Linked DNA regions of Homo sapiens: region 1 is linked to region 2. Evidence: promoter capture Hi-C in human tissues and cell types (Jung and others, 2019). All regions are on one chromosome and are shown on one strand. Each heading gives the region's core, a stretch centred on a gene start or on the middle of the fragment in contact. The rest is flanking DNA. Distances are from core to core; before and after follow the strand shown.

Evidence for each region. The method cuts DNA at HindIII sites, captures the fragments that hold promoters and counts their contacts. A contact is called where the count stands out against the background at its distance.
Region 1: a fragment that was not itself captured here is called in contact with the fragment with the promoter of HEATR6 in region 2 in 2 of the 25 tissues and cell types used here (H1 embryonic stem cells and dorsolateral prefrontal cortex).

Annotation. Positions count from the first base shown.
Region 1 is chr17:59,941,249-59,948,088 of GRCh38, forward strand. It overlaps RPS6KB1 (ribosomal protein S6 kinase B1), which reads left to right. Exons shown (of 15, transcript NM_003161.4): 14 at 4,158-4,270; 15 at 5,303-6,840. The coding sequence ends at 5,540. Among named protein-coding and RNA genes, the nearest start is that of RNFT1, 20 kb to the right of the region's middle. The HindIII fragment of the contact is 3,250 bases long and covers 1,804-5,053 here.
Region 2 is chr17:60,076,981-60,084,107 of GRCh38, forward strand. HEATR6 (HEAT repeat containing 6) reads right to left here and starts at 1,941. Exons shown (of 20, transcript NM_022070.5): 1 at 1,716-1,941. The coding sequence starts at 1,934. HEATR6-DT (HEATR6 divergent transcript) reads left to right here and starts at 2,329. Exons shown (of 2, transcript NR_135648.1): 1 at 2,329-2,492. It also overlaps the pseudogene WFDC21P. RefSeq lists a silencer at 1,598-1,727. The HindIII fragment of the contact is 14,340 bases long and covers 1-7,127 here.

The sequences.
Region 1 (6,840 bases), core at 2,179-4,678, 130 kb before region 2:
TAGCAGTCGGGGAGAAAAACCTCACTGACTACATGTATTTTATTCCTGAAACAGCTATAGATTTTTGGTACTTTTTTTTTTTTTTTTTTTGAGACAGGGTCTCACCTTGTAGCCTAGGCTGGGTGTAGTGTAGTGGTGTGATCACAGTTCACTGCAGCCTTGACCTCCCAGGCTCAAGTGATCCACCCATTTCAGCCTTGTGAGTACCTGTACCACAGGTGTGTGCCACATGCAGCTAATTTTTTATTTTTTTGTAGAGACAGAGTCTCACTATTTTACTCCTGGACTCAAGCTATCTTCCTGCCTTGGCTTCCCAAAGTGCCAAAATTATAGGCATGAGCCATCGTTCCTGGCCCTATTTTTGGTACTCTTAACATAAGTAGGGGATTTTTTTTTTTTTTTTTGAGACGGAGTCTTGCTCTGTCACCAGGTTGGAGTGCAGTGGCGCGATCTCAGCTCACTGCAACTTCTGCCTCCTGGGTTCGAGTGATTCTCCTGCCTCAGCCTCCCGAGTAGCTGGGACTATAGGCGTGCGCCACCACGCCCAGTTAATTTTTGTATTTTTAGTAGAGACAGGGTTTCACCATGTTGGCCAGGATGGTCTCGATTTCTTTTTTTTTTTTTTTTTGAGAAGGAGTCTCGCTCTGTCGCCCAGGTTGGAGTGCAGTGGCGCAATCTCAGCTCACTGCAAGCTCCACCTCCCGGGTTCACACCATCCTCCTGCCTCAGCCTCCTGAGTAGCTGGGACTACAGGTGCCCGCCACCACGCCAGGCTAATTTTTTGTATTTGTAGTAGAGACGGGGTTTCATCGTGTTAGCCAGGATAGTTTTGATCTCCTGACCTCATGATCCGCCCGCCTTGGCCTCCCAAAGTGCTGGGATTACAGGCGTAAGCCACCACGCCCAGTCGATGGTCTCGATTTCTTGACCTCGTGATCCACCCGCCTTGGCCTCCCAAAGTGTTGGGAATACAGGCATGAGCCACCGTGCCAGGCCAAGTAGGGGATTTTTTTAACATTAATTGTGAATATTTGACATCAAAACATATTGGTTCATATGTAATAGTGAATTCTCATTGTAGAAATGTCTGTATAGATTTATAGCTTGTCTCCTCAGAAAAGTAAAGGTTTTTGATGTTGGCCAACAGAAATGATGGATTTATATCAGAAGACCATGAATGCATACTATTTTGCTCAAATAGCACATATGCTTGTTGATTTTATTACTGTACTTAATATGTCACATGAACATCTATCTCATTTTGTATCCTTTTTTTTTCTTTTGTCATTTGTTTTTGGACTACTCTAGGGAGAATAGAATATGGGGAAAATAATTGTTTGGGAGTGTTTTTTCCCTGTTTTTGAGTTCACTGGATTTGTCACTAACTTAATTCTTAAGCTTTTCTTCCCCACATTGCTCACTATGTAATACAAGTAGTGTTGTATCTTATGGGATGGGAAATAAGCTCTAAAGTTAGCATGGAGTTGGGGCATGGTGGCTTATGGCTATAACCTTGAGGTCAGGAGTTCAAGACCAGCCTGGCTAACATGGTGAAACCCCATCTCTACTAAAAGTACAAAAATTAGCCAGGTGTGGTGGCATGCACCTGTGGTACCAACTACTTGGGAGGCTGAGGCAGGAGAATCACTTGAACCCGGGAGGCAGAGGTTGCAGGAGCCAAGATTGTGCCACTGCACTCCAGCCTGAGCGATAGAGTGAGTGAGACTCCGTATCAAAAAAAAAAAAATTAATTAAAAAAATTAAGTTAGTATGGGATGCAAAAGTTGTGTATAGTACAGTATGGTTTTGAGTAAACAACACTGAATAGTAATAATCCTATAAATTAATATAGAGCACATAGGCAAAATATAGTCTTACAGTATTACATAAGAGATAAAAGATGAGTGAGTGCATGCATGTTTTTAAATTCAAGTTTGATGTGTGCATGATCAAAGTTACGGCATCTCTGTTAGTAAAATCTTAGGTTCAGTTAGGGAAGTGGGCATGAATCACTTTAATTTTGGCATTTTTTTTCTCTCATGTACTACAGATGTGGAATTTATACCTTTGATTTAACATAGAGACCTTTTCCTCAATTGGACATTGCAGAATTTCAACTTATGTGACAGTTTTCCCCCCACAAAATAGAAGCATTTTATTTAGCTGCCAAGAAATCCAAAGTTGTGGTGGTAAAAGTGAGATATTGAAGCTTTCGTTGCCAGTTAAAGTATTGTTGAGCTTTTCACAATTACTTAAATTGGCTAATGAATAGAGCAACTCATTTGTTAGGTTGTAGCCAGAATTCTCTACATAAAGTGGATCTCTTTAAACATTAATAAAAAAAAATAGGTCAGGTGCAGTGGCTCACGCCTGTAATCCCAGCACTTTGGGAGTCTGAGGTGGGCGGATCACAAGGTCAGGAGTTCCAGACCAGCCTGGCTAATATGGTGAAAACCCATCTCTACTAAAAATACAAAAATTAGCCAGGCATGATGGCTGTAGTCCCAGCTACTCGGGAGGCTGAGGCAGGAGAATCGCTTGAACCCGGGAGGAGGAGGTTGTAATGAGCTGAGATCACGCCCCTCACTGCACTCCAGCCTGGGCGACAGAGCTAGAATCCATCTCAAAAAAAAAAAAAAAATTATATATATATATATACACATATATATATATACACACATACATACACACACACATATAGTGACATCCCACTTATCTGGATAATGTGGTTCTAGCAACCTCATTTCAACAAATATTTTAATTCCTGTTGTAAGACCCCATCACAGAATTAGAGGAAATTCAAAGATGATTAAGGCACAGCCTGTACCTCTTGGTAGTTACAGCTTTAGTCCACCAGAACGTTTGTAAAATTATTCTCTGAAGTTCACATATAACTGTCACAAATCATATGCACTTCAGAATTGCACCTCACTCTTTGGGACTTCACTCAGAGCTTTGCTGAGTCTTATTTATTGTAACACATAATGCTTACTCATAGATTTTGATAAATAGAAGATAGGTGAAGATGGTTAAAAGAATGAACATTGACAGCTAGAGAAATGACAGCTGGTAGCCTAATAGTAAGATCCAAGAGAGAACTAAAATGAACAAAACTGCATTTTTGCCTATTACAACTGAAGGTTTTTGAAATGTTGATACTTATTCATCAAGAAAACACCAAATTCTAGCTGGGCAGAGATCACACGTGCCTATATAGTCACAGCTACTTGAGGGGCTGAGGTGGGAGAATAGCTTGGGTCCAGGAGTTTGAGGCTGCAGTGAGCTATGTTATCACCACTGCACTCCAGCCTGGGCAATATAGGGATACCCCATCTCTTAAAACAAAACAAAAAACGAATTCTGTCCAATCATTGGCGTAAAACCAGAAAGATCACAAGATCTGACTTTGATGCCAAGTCAGAAAATTGTTTTTACTTTGGTCTGATTATAAGAAACTGTTTTAGGGTGATAAACTTAATTGCTTATATGCCTGTGGCTAGAAACACTAGAAGTTTCTTTACATTTCTCCTAGTATTTAACATCTTTTTTTTTTTTTTTTTTAATTTTTGAGATGGAGTCTTACTCTGTTGCCCAGGCTAGAATGCAGTGGTGCGATCTCTGCTCACTGCAACCTCCACCTACCAGGTTCAAGTGATCCTCCTGCCTCAGCCTCCCGAGTAGCTGGGATTACAGGCGTGCACCACCATGCATGGTGGTGTATTTTTGTATTTTTAGTAGAGACGGTGTTTCACCACATTGGCCAGGCTGGTCTTTAACTCCTGACCTCAGGTGGTCTGCCCGCCTTGGCCTCCCAAAGTGCTGGGATGACAGGCGTGAGCCCCCGTGCCTGGGCGTATTTAACATCTTCATATGGAGCCTGAATTTTCCTGTTTTTTTTTCTATTCCTGTCAGTAGGGTAGAATTTTGTTTGCTAGCATATCAGGCTCAATGGAATTCTGCTTTCTTGAAGTGTGTGCCTCACGAAATGGCTGGAAAGAAGTTAACGGGTCTAAAAATGAGGTTGAGGACGTGGGAGAGTGTACACATTGGTGGTTTTAGGTGTGCATCATTGTGTAGGTATGTCAGACTGAACAACCCCATTCTCTTGAGATACATGACAAAATGCCATTCTGTAGTCCACTGTTACTGTCTTTCAGGGTTTTACATATGTGGCTCCATCTGTACTTGAAAGTGTGAAAGAAAAGTTTTCCTTTGAACCAAAAATCCGATCACCTCGAAGATTTATTGGCAGCCCACGAACACCTGTCAGGTATTTCACACTCTTATTTTCACTTTTTTTTGTTTTTAAACAACCTACAAGAGTGTTTGCTTAAGAAGTTTATGCCAAGTTATATAAATGAAAGACTGTCATACTCTCTTTGGTTGACATAAGCACAGCATCTATATCTTACATTGCAAAGGACTAGTCTGACTAATCTATGATGTTATATGGTTTACCTTCCCTCCCAAAAGTAAGCAGCCATACTGGCAAATGTCCTCTTTATCCATTCACTCAGCATTTATTGTGCACCAAGAGCACCAGCACTACATACTGCATGTTATGTGTGTGTATCTATATAGTACTATAATACAGGAATTGTCCCTGTCCTGATGAAGCTTACAATTTAGTGGGAAAGTCACAATAGACAAAGGATATACAAAAATATAATTACAAGTAGTGCAAAGTGCTATAATTTAAAAGGGGAAAAAAAGAATGTACTGGTAGAGAGCAGAGGAAAAACAAGGGGGCTTCTACTCACAGTGATCAGAGAAAGGCCTCCCTGGTGTAGTAACATCTAGCAGTGAACGGAAAGAGCCAGCCCTACAAAAATAGGAGGTATAAGAATGTTGCAGGCAGAAGAACAGCAAATGCAAAAACCCTGAGGGAGGAGAAAAGTTGCCCTTTTCCTGGAAGTGAAAGGGAAATCAGTGTTCCTGGAGTGTGTGGTGAGTGAGGAGAAGGGCAGAGGTTTGGAAAAGTATTTTATTTTAAATGCAATAGAAAGCTGTTTTGAGCAGGGGAGAGTAAAATGATATATATAATACGCATTTAAATGTATATATATCTCATTGAGGGTTTTGGGGGTCAGGTGTAGAGGTAAAGAGACCAGTTAGGAAATTCTAGCAGTTAATCTAGGTGGGGGAGAGATGGTTCAATTTTTGCCTTTGTGCTAATCCACGTGAAAATAAAATTAAATGAAAATAAATGTCATGTTACCCCACTCCCTTTAAACGTAAAGGAAATATGTCTTGTTGAGATGACCCTTAAGCAAATGAATGATAGCTCTTCCTTGTCTTAAAGCCCAGTCAAATTTTCTCCTGGGGATTTCTGGGGAAGAGGTGCTTCGGCCAGCACAGCAAATCCTCAGACACCTGTGGAATACCCAATGGAAACAAGTGGCATAGAGCAGATGGATGTGACAATGAGTGGGGAAGCATCGGCACCACTTCCAATACGACAGCCGAACTCTGGGCCATACAAAAAACAAGCTTTTCCCATGATCTCCAAACGGCCAGAGCACCTGCGTATGAATCTATGACAGAGCAATGCTTTTAATGAATTTAAGGCAAAAAAGGTGGAGAGGGAGATGTGTGAGCATCCTGCAAGGTGAAACGACTCAAAATGACAGTTTCAGAGAGTCAATGTCATTACATAGAACACTTCAGACACAGGAAAAATAAACGTGGATTTTAAAAAATCAATCAATGGTGCAAAAAAAAACTTAAAGCAAAATAGTATTGCTGAACTCTTAGGCACATCAATTAATTGATTCCTCGCGACATCTTCTCAACCTTATCAAGGATTTTCATGTTGATGACTCGAAACTGACAGTATTAAGGGTAGGATGTTGCTTCTGAATCACTGTTGAGTTCTGATTGTGTTGAAGAAGGGTTATCCTTTCATTAGGCAAAGTACAAAATTGCCTATAATACTTGCAACTAAGGACAAATTAGCATGCAAGCTTGGTCAAACTTTTTCCAGCAAAATGGAAGCAAAGACAAAAGAAACTTACCAATTGATGTTTTACGTGCAAACAACCTGAATCTTTTTTTTATATAAATATATATTTTTCAAATAGATTTTTGATTCAGCTCATTATGAAAAACATCCCAAACTTTAAAATGCGAAATTATTGGTTGGTGTGAAGAAAGCCAGACAACTTCTGTTTCTTCTCTTGGTGAAATAATAAAATGCAAATGAATCATTGTTAACCACAGCTGTGGCTCGTTTGAGGGATTGGGGTGGACCTGGGGTTTATTTTCAGTAACCCAGCTGCAATACCTGTCTGTAATATGAGAAAAAAAAAATGAATCTATTTAATCATTTCTACTTGCAGTACTGCTATGTGCTAAGCTTAACTGGAAGCCTTGGAATGGGCATAAGTTGTATGTCCTACATTTCATCATTGTCCCGGGCCTGCATTGCACTGGAAAAAAAAATCGCCACCTGTTCTTACACCAGTATTTGGTTCAAGACACCAAATGTCTTCAGCCCATGGCTGAAGAACAACAGAAGAGAGTCAGGATAAAAAATACATACTGTGGTCGGCAAGGTGAGGGAGATAGGGATATCCAGGGGAAGAGGGTGTTGCTGTGGCCCACTCTCTGTCTAATCTCTTTACAGCAAATTGGTAAGATTTTCAGTTTTACTTCTTTCTACTGTTTCTGCTGTCTACCTTCCTTATATTTTTTTCCTCAACAGTTTTAAAAAGAAAAAAAGGTCTATTTTTTTTTCTCCTATACTTGGGCTACATTTTTTGATTGTAAAAATATTTGATGGCCTTTTGATGAATGTCTTCCACAGTAAAGAAAACTTAGTGGCTTAATTTAGGAAACATG
Region 2 (7,127 bases), core at 691-3,190:
GTCACACTCTTCATCCATCGATGTTTATAGAATGACAAGGTTCTGAGCACCTACTATGTGTCATAGTGTGCTAGGTCTTTGGGCTCCAAAGGTAAAACAAACATGTTCCTGAACCTCAAAGAGCTCACAAACTAGTGAGAGAGAAAGAAACACAACAAATAATTAAAATAAGGTGAATCAAGTGCTGAAAGAATAAAGTACAAACTCTGTCCAGAAACAGTAATTAGGGAGGCCTTGTGGAGGTGACTGTAAAGCAGAATCTGGAATGATTTGAAGGATGAGGAGAAATTTGCCAGATAGGGCATCAAAAAACACTGCAAGCAAAGTGGACAGAGTATGCAAAAACCTGGAGGTGTGAAACACTAGTAGGTGCCTGAAGAACAGCAAGTTTTAAATGGCTGCACACAGGAACAAAAGGGGGAGTAACAGGAGAGAATGGAAGTTTTGTTGCAAAAGTATCCAATTACACAAATACAGCAAAAGTCCCCGACTACTGCCTTAATCTCACTCTGCTTCCTAATGACATACACTATTATTCTGTAGTCAATTCTTTCAGACCTTTTACTTTGCATATATAAACACACATATTTTAAAATCCCTCCTCCAGCTTCATACTGATCTCATTCTGTATGAATTGTCCTGCAACTTGCTTCAACCATTTACCAATACGTATTGAAGACTTTTCCAAAGCAGATTTTAAAGTTTATGAACAATTTTTTTTCCTCCTAAAGAAAAGATCATTCTGGCATTGGAGGAATGACTGGCTTGGAGAGGAGCTAGACAGGAGGCAGGAGATCAGTCAGAGGGGATCAGCGAACAGTCCAGGCATAAGTCGCCTTGCCTGAGGTCTAAGGCACTCGCTATGGGAATAGACAGGAGGGGATGAACTGAGAAATATATATGAGACACATTCTGAAATACCTGAGTTGGTCAGGATCTGGGATGAAGGAGGGAAGAACCAGTGTTTGTGTCTGGTGTGACTTGGTGGATGATGCATGTGTGTTGGAAGGTGGGATGGACTGGGGACGGGAATGCGTGTTTGGAGCTAATGAATTTCATCTTTAGGAACTGTCTAGTTTGAGATGCCTGTGCAAGCAGGCAACTTGCACCACTTCCCTCTTTCCTACGTAGGGCCAGAAGGCCATGGTGTCAACAGTTCAGAGAATTCATTAATTTAAGGCCTGATGTGTGTAAGATTACTCAGAAAGACGGCAGAGGGGAGGAGCTAGTGTGTAGGAACAGAAAACATAGGGGCTTTGTGGCAGAGTTTTGTATACTGTATTTTTACGAGCTTCAGTATTTTCATTAGCAAACAAGCCCTAATACTACGCAAGTTCTAAGATTCCCACGTGGTCCGTGTACCATGTACGCAATAAACAGTAGTAATGCATTTTGTCAACCAAGTGTTCTGGGTGCACAGAGAGGGAGTGAAGGAGGGTGCGGGCGGATGGAAAGTTGGTATCAGAGAGGAAACCCGAGGCATTATCAGAGCAGGAGTCGTCAAGTTGGGTTTTGAATGACTCGAGCGTGCCAAGCACTGCAGGGTCTTCCAAATGGAGAACTAAGAATGTGCCAAGGTTGGAGGGGGCACGCCATCCTGAAACTAAATCATCAGGCGCGAGAGTGGGAAGATCAGGGAAAGGCAGGCAGAGGCCACCAGCTGGGTTCCCGGAGGGGTGGGGCCGGGGCCGGGGCCAGCAGGGCGCGCCGCCTACCTCCGGGGCCACGCCACTGCCCTCGCTGTAGTTCTCGGAGATGAGCTGATCGAAGAGCAGGTGGATCTCGGTGCGGGCGGAGCTGCTGTCATCCGGGCGCAGGGCGCAGAGCCTGGCAGACAAGAGGCGAAACCCATTGCCTCGCTCAGGGATTGCTTCCCGCGGTGCCTCCCGCGGCTGCACGGAAGGCCACGAACCGACAACTTGCACAGCAGCCATCTTTTCTACGGGCGGGGGGGGTGGGTGGGGTGATCCCAGGGAAATACTTCCGGGACATCCTCCCGTTCCGCGCGCTCTAGTTCCGAAAGTACCTTTTTTAGACCGGACTGGGGCTCAGAGGGGTTTCCATGACTACGGGACTCCTCCGACCGGTACCCTGCAGATGCTTGTCAGAAATTGGCTTGGAGGCCGGGCTCGGTGGCTGACGCCTGTAATCCCAGCACTTTGGGAGGCCGAGGCGGGCGGATCACGAGGTCAGAAGATCGAGACCATCCTAGCTAACACGGTGAAACCCCGTCTCTACTAAAAATACAAAAAAAAAAAAAAAAAAAAAATTAGCCGGGAGTGGTGGCGGGCGCCTGTTGTCCCAGCTACTCGGGAGGCTGAGGCAGGAGAATGGCGTGAACCCGGGAGGCAGGGCTTGCAATGAGCCAAGATCGCGCCACTGCACTCCAGCCTGGGCGACAGAGCGAGACTCCGTCTCAGAAAAAAAAAAAAAGAAAGAAATTGGCTTGGAGATTTTTCGCCGGCCACTCCTTCTTGAGCCCTGACTGAAAAGTGAGTTCTCAATTTGTGCTTCCAGAAAGTTTGTCCTCCCAGAGTTTGTTCCTGGACAGGGCTGAAGGTACTCTGTTCCGTACTAGAGTTTCAGATTCGGGCTGGAGTTGGAGAGGGTATGCTGTGGATGGCAGTAGCAGAAACCGCTAGTTCTAAGGCACCCTTCTACTCTTCTAAAATCTTTCCCCAGGCACAAAACCACCCGGAATAAAGGCTACGTTCCCTAGCATTCCTTGCAGTTGGCTGTGGCTCTGTGATTGCAATCTGGTCAGTGGAATATAAGGCAGCTTTCCCTACTTAAGTGACAGCTGGCTGTACTCTTGGTTCCTTTTTCTCCCTTTTTCCCAGTGTGAATCCTCTCATGGATCATGAGGCACCTCGCCCCACTAGAAGAGTAATTTTGGAGTTTAACTGAATCATGTAAAATATAATCTGCCTAAGAGTGACCGGGTTGAAATGAGACACCCCAAGATTTTCTGAAACCTTGAAGTCAAGAAGCTGGAGAATAAAATGGCCATTTAAAAATCTGTGATCACTTTTCAGTCATCCAGGAAGTGAAGGCTTGACTTTCACAGTTGGGCAGATTGGGAAAACCATCTCTAGGGCCTTTGAGTTATGCAAATATAAAGCAAATCCTCACCCTTGGCCCTTAGGGAAAACCTTGAAGTCACCTGAATGTATGTTTTATCCTGAGAACAAAACATTTCTGTTCAGCAGTGAAAATTGGGGGTATGCTTTAGCAGAGGTAGTTTTCTGAAGACTTTGGGCTTGGGGAGAAATGTTAATTTTTTTGTTTGGATTTAGATTCCGTTGTGCTGGTATATTATTTCTTATTCCTAGTCTGTGTACATATGTGCGTTATATATGTGCATGTGTGTGTGTGTATTCGTGTAAAGAAATGTATTCAAGCATTTGTTCAGAGAAGATCAGGAGCTGAAACCTAGTCGTTGGATATTTTAATCTGGGTTCCCTGATAGCAGAGCCTCAGATGAGGTTGATAGGTGAGGGATTTATCCAGAAATGAACAGGGAAGGAAGGAGAATTAATACCAATATGTGCTATTGAGTTGGCCATTGCAAGGGGTGACTGATTGTTCAGTCCTCAGGAGTTTCTGAGAAGCCTTGTGAAGCTCTCAAAACCCTTCTTCTGAGGAACAGAGAGGAAAAGCATTTATCTGTCAGCTTTTGAAGTCTATTGTCAAAAGTTGACCACAAGGCATTAATTCACTGGTGTTCCTGTGTTGAGCATGCATCTGTGCTTGGTTCCTGGAGGAGTCCTATGTTGCATAGTCAAAGAAGCCCTGAGGCAAAAGTGAGGAAACTAGGTGCATATCTGAGGCAAGGCTCTCACCAGTTATACCTGTGCTAAGCTAGTAGATGCCTGTGATAAACTAGTTGCTGTAGCAATGGCTAGAGTAAGAATGTAAGACCAAGAGTATGTGAAGTAGTACTAAAGAGCTGTCTTACACATTGGGCTAGAAGGATGTGAGGCCTGGTCATTTCCACAATGCACGTTCGAAGAGACTGGAAAGGATCTGGGTTTGGTGTGGTTCACTTTAAGTTGCAATATGGATGACCTACATATTGTGTTATTCAGGGTGGAATGGCCCAGGAATTGTAAAATACAGTATACTGATGCCGGTCTGTTCAGTTCTGGTAGAATATACTGTTTTGGATCAGTGTGGTTCCTTTAAGGAAATGGACATCCCTACTCTGCAGTGATCACCAACTGAAGGAAACGTATCTCAAGCTCTGAGGGAGGCCTTTGAAGGCACCCTGCATTGGCTTGAGTTTAGACAGTAGCACTCCTGCTCCCACCTCCCACCCTGAAACTGTGGAAACACAGCATGGCAAAAGCTCTCTTCCAAGAAAATCTTCTGTCTCCTCCTCAATTCTCTGCATTTTCATAGTCCTGCAGTGACTGAGGGGCTTTAAGGGGTGCTAAGCACGTTCACAGCCATTTCCTTTGTTAGATTCTGCATCGGATGATCTGGAACCTCAGTGGAATTTCACTCCTTTCATGTGTGGAAACCTCTCAAGACTTCACTTTTATCCCTTCATGAGCGTCTGGGTCATCCTAACTCACGTAGGCTTGCATACCCCCACTTCACTCTAATTCACATCTTTGATTATTTCCTTCGGAAAATTTACCATAACCTGCAGTTATCTTGTTTATTTGATGACTTTATCATCTGTTTTCCCCTCTAGAATATTAACTTTATGAAGGCACAGTTCCCGTTTGTCTCATTCGCTGTTGTATCCCAGGGCTAGCACAGCCCCTGGGATGTGGTAGATGCCCCACAATATTTGTTAACAGAATGAATGAATTCACTAATTTTTTATTCAGGGTCCCCTATTTGCCACCGGTTGATGTGAAAATCGAATGGGATTTTTGTGAAAATGCTTTGTAAACTATAAAGTTTTATAAGTCTTAGTATCAAATGAGGTAGATATTATTTCCCCCTTTTATAGTTGGGAAAATGGTGCCGAAGAGTATAAATGGTTGGTCAAGGCTGCACAGGCAGCAAATTGGTTGAAATCAGATTGCAGCCCAGGCTGGCTGTGATTGTGAAGAACATAGACAAGAAATTATAAACCCATTGTTTTTTACCTCCCACATTTTGTAATGGGGAAAACCAGAAGACAGGAGCTTGATTTCGGTATCCAGATTACACTTTGAACCAGGAGAGGCTAGGAAGGAGGATTGGCCTTGAGTTCTGTTTCAGGGTCATCAGCCTATCTATGTGATTACATAGGAGTCCCCCCTTATCAGTAGTTTCACTTTCAGCCTTTTCAATTACCCGTGGTCAATCACAGTATGAAAATATGAAATGCGCTGGGCGCAGTGTCTCATGCCTGTAATCCCAGCACTTTGGGAGTCCGAGACGGGCTGCTCACTGGAGGTCAGGAACTCGACACCAGCTGACCAACATGGTGAAACTCCATCTCTACTAAAAATACAAAAATTAGCCGGACGTGTTGGCACACGCCTGTAATCCCAGCTACTTGGGAGGCTGAGGCAGGAGAATCACTTGAACCTGGGAGGCAGAGATTGCAGTGAGCCGAGATCACACCATTGCACTCCAGCCTGGGTGACCAAAGTAAAACTCCGTCCAAAAAAAAAAGAAAAAAAAAACGAAATGGAAATTTCCAGAAATAAACAATTCATACATTTCAACTTGCTGCTGTTCTGAGTAGCGTGATGAAATCTTGCGCCATCCCACTTCATTCTGCCTGGAATGTGAATCATCCCTTAGTCAAGCATATCCACGCTTTATATGCTACCCACCCGTTAGTCACTTAATAACCATCTCAGTTATGAGATCCACTGTCCCAGTGCTTGTGTTCAAGTAACCTTTATTTTGCTTAGTGGTCTCAAAGCATAAGAGTAGTGATGCTGGCATATTGTTATATTTGTTCTATTTTATTATTAGTTATTGTTAATCTCTTACTGTGCCTAATTTATAAATTTACTTTATCATAAGGATGTATTTATAGGACAGAACACATATATAGAGAGTTTGATACTATCCACGGCAGTATATGTAGAGTTTGATACGATCCACGGTTTTGTGCATTCACTGGGGGTCTTGAAACATATCCCCCGTGGATTAGGGGTACTACTGTGTTAATAATCATTGTAGTTAACACTTACTGAATGCTTTCTATGTGTCAGCACTTTATGTGACCCTCTTTAATCTTTGTAGTTTCATGAGGTACTATTATATATATGAGTCGAATCACAGAAAGATGAAGACTCTCACTGAAGGCCACATGGCTGTGTGGTGTGCCTGGGTTTGAAATTCAGAGTCAGGGCTCCTGACCACCATGCTATAATGCATAGGACTTATATGGCGTTCGACATGAGATTATAGTTTAGGCCCTGACACTTACCTGCTATATGACTCTGCCCCAAACCTCAGTGTCCTCAAATGGTAATGATAAGAAGTGCAGTCAAAAGGTTGTTAAGGTTACTTAGATAATGCCTGGGGAGAATTTAACATGGTCCTTGTTGATAGTCAGTACGCAACAAATGTCATCTGTCCTCCTCCCCCTCCTCCTCACCTTTAACCAAATAACTCAAATAGTATGAGTGCTTTTAACAATGATGATTTATTAAAAGAAACAACCCCTCTTCCCTGCCTCCCATATCCCCTGTAGTCTCCATCCACAGGCTTGCTGTTTTCATCCATCTTCCTAGTCAAGGAACTCCAGACAGTCACATCTTGGAAGATAGGAACTCCAGGAAGGGATGACGATCTTAGGGAAAGATGATCCTTAAGATAACTCTTCATCTGAGAAAAAGACAAAAAAAATTTTGCCCGAGACCTGCTGTTTTGGGGACCTGGATCCACAGAATACAATCAAGAGGCAACAGTTCCCAATTTGGGAAATCAATCACACCTGCAAAGAGCCAGCCAGGCCCTAAGCAGTCCAAGGATTGCAGGTGGATTGGCCAAACAATACATTCTGAACACAAAGGGTTTTTATTTAAAGTGTATGCTGATTCTGTTGTGTTTAGTGCAACTTAGTTTATAATCAAAACTGGTAGCTTTTTATTATGCATTTTTCAACTAATGGCTACTGAAAACAAATAAATTATCCTGTGAGGCCCCTGAGATATTTTCACAGAAAA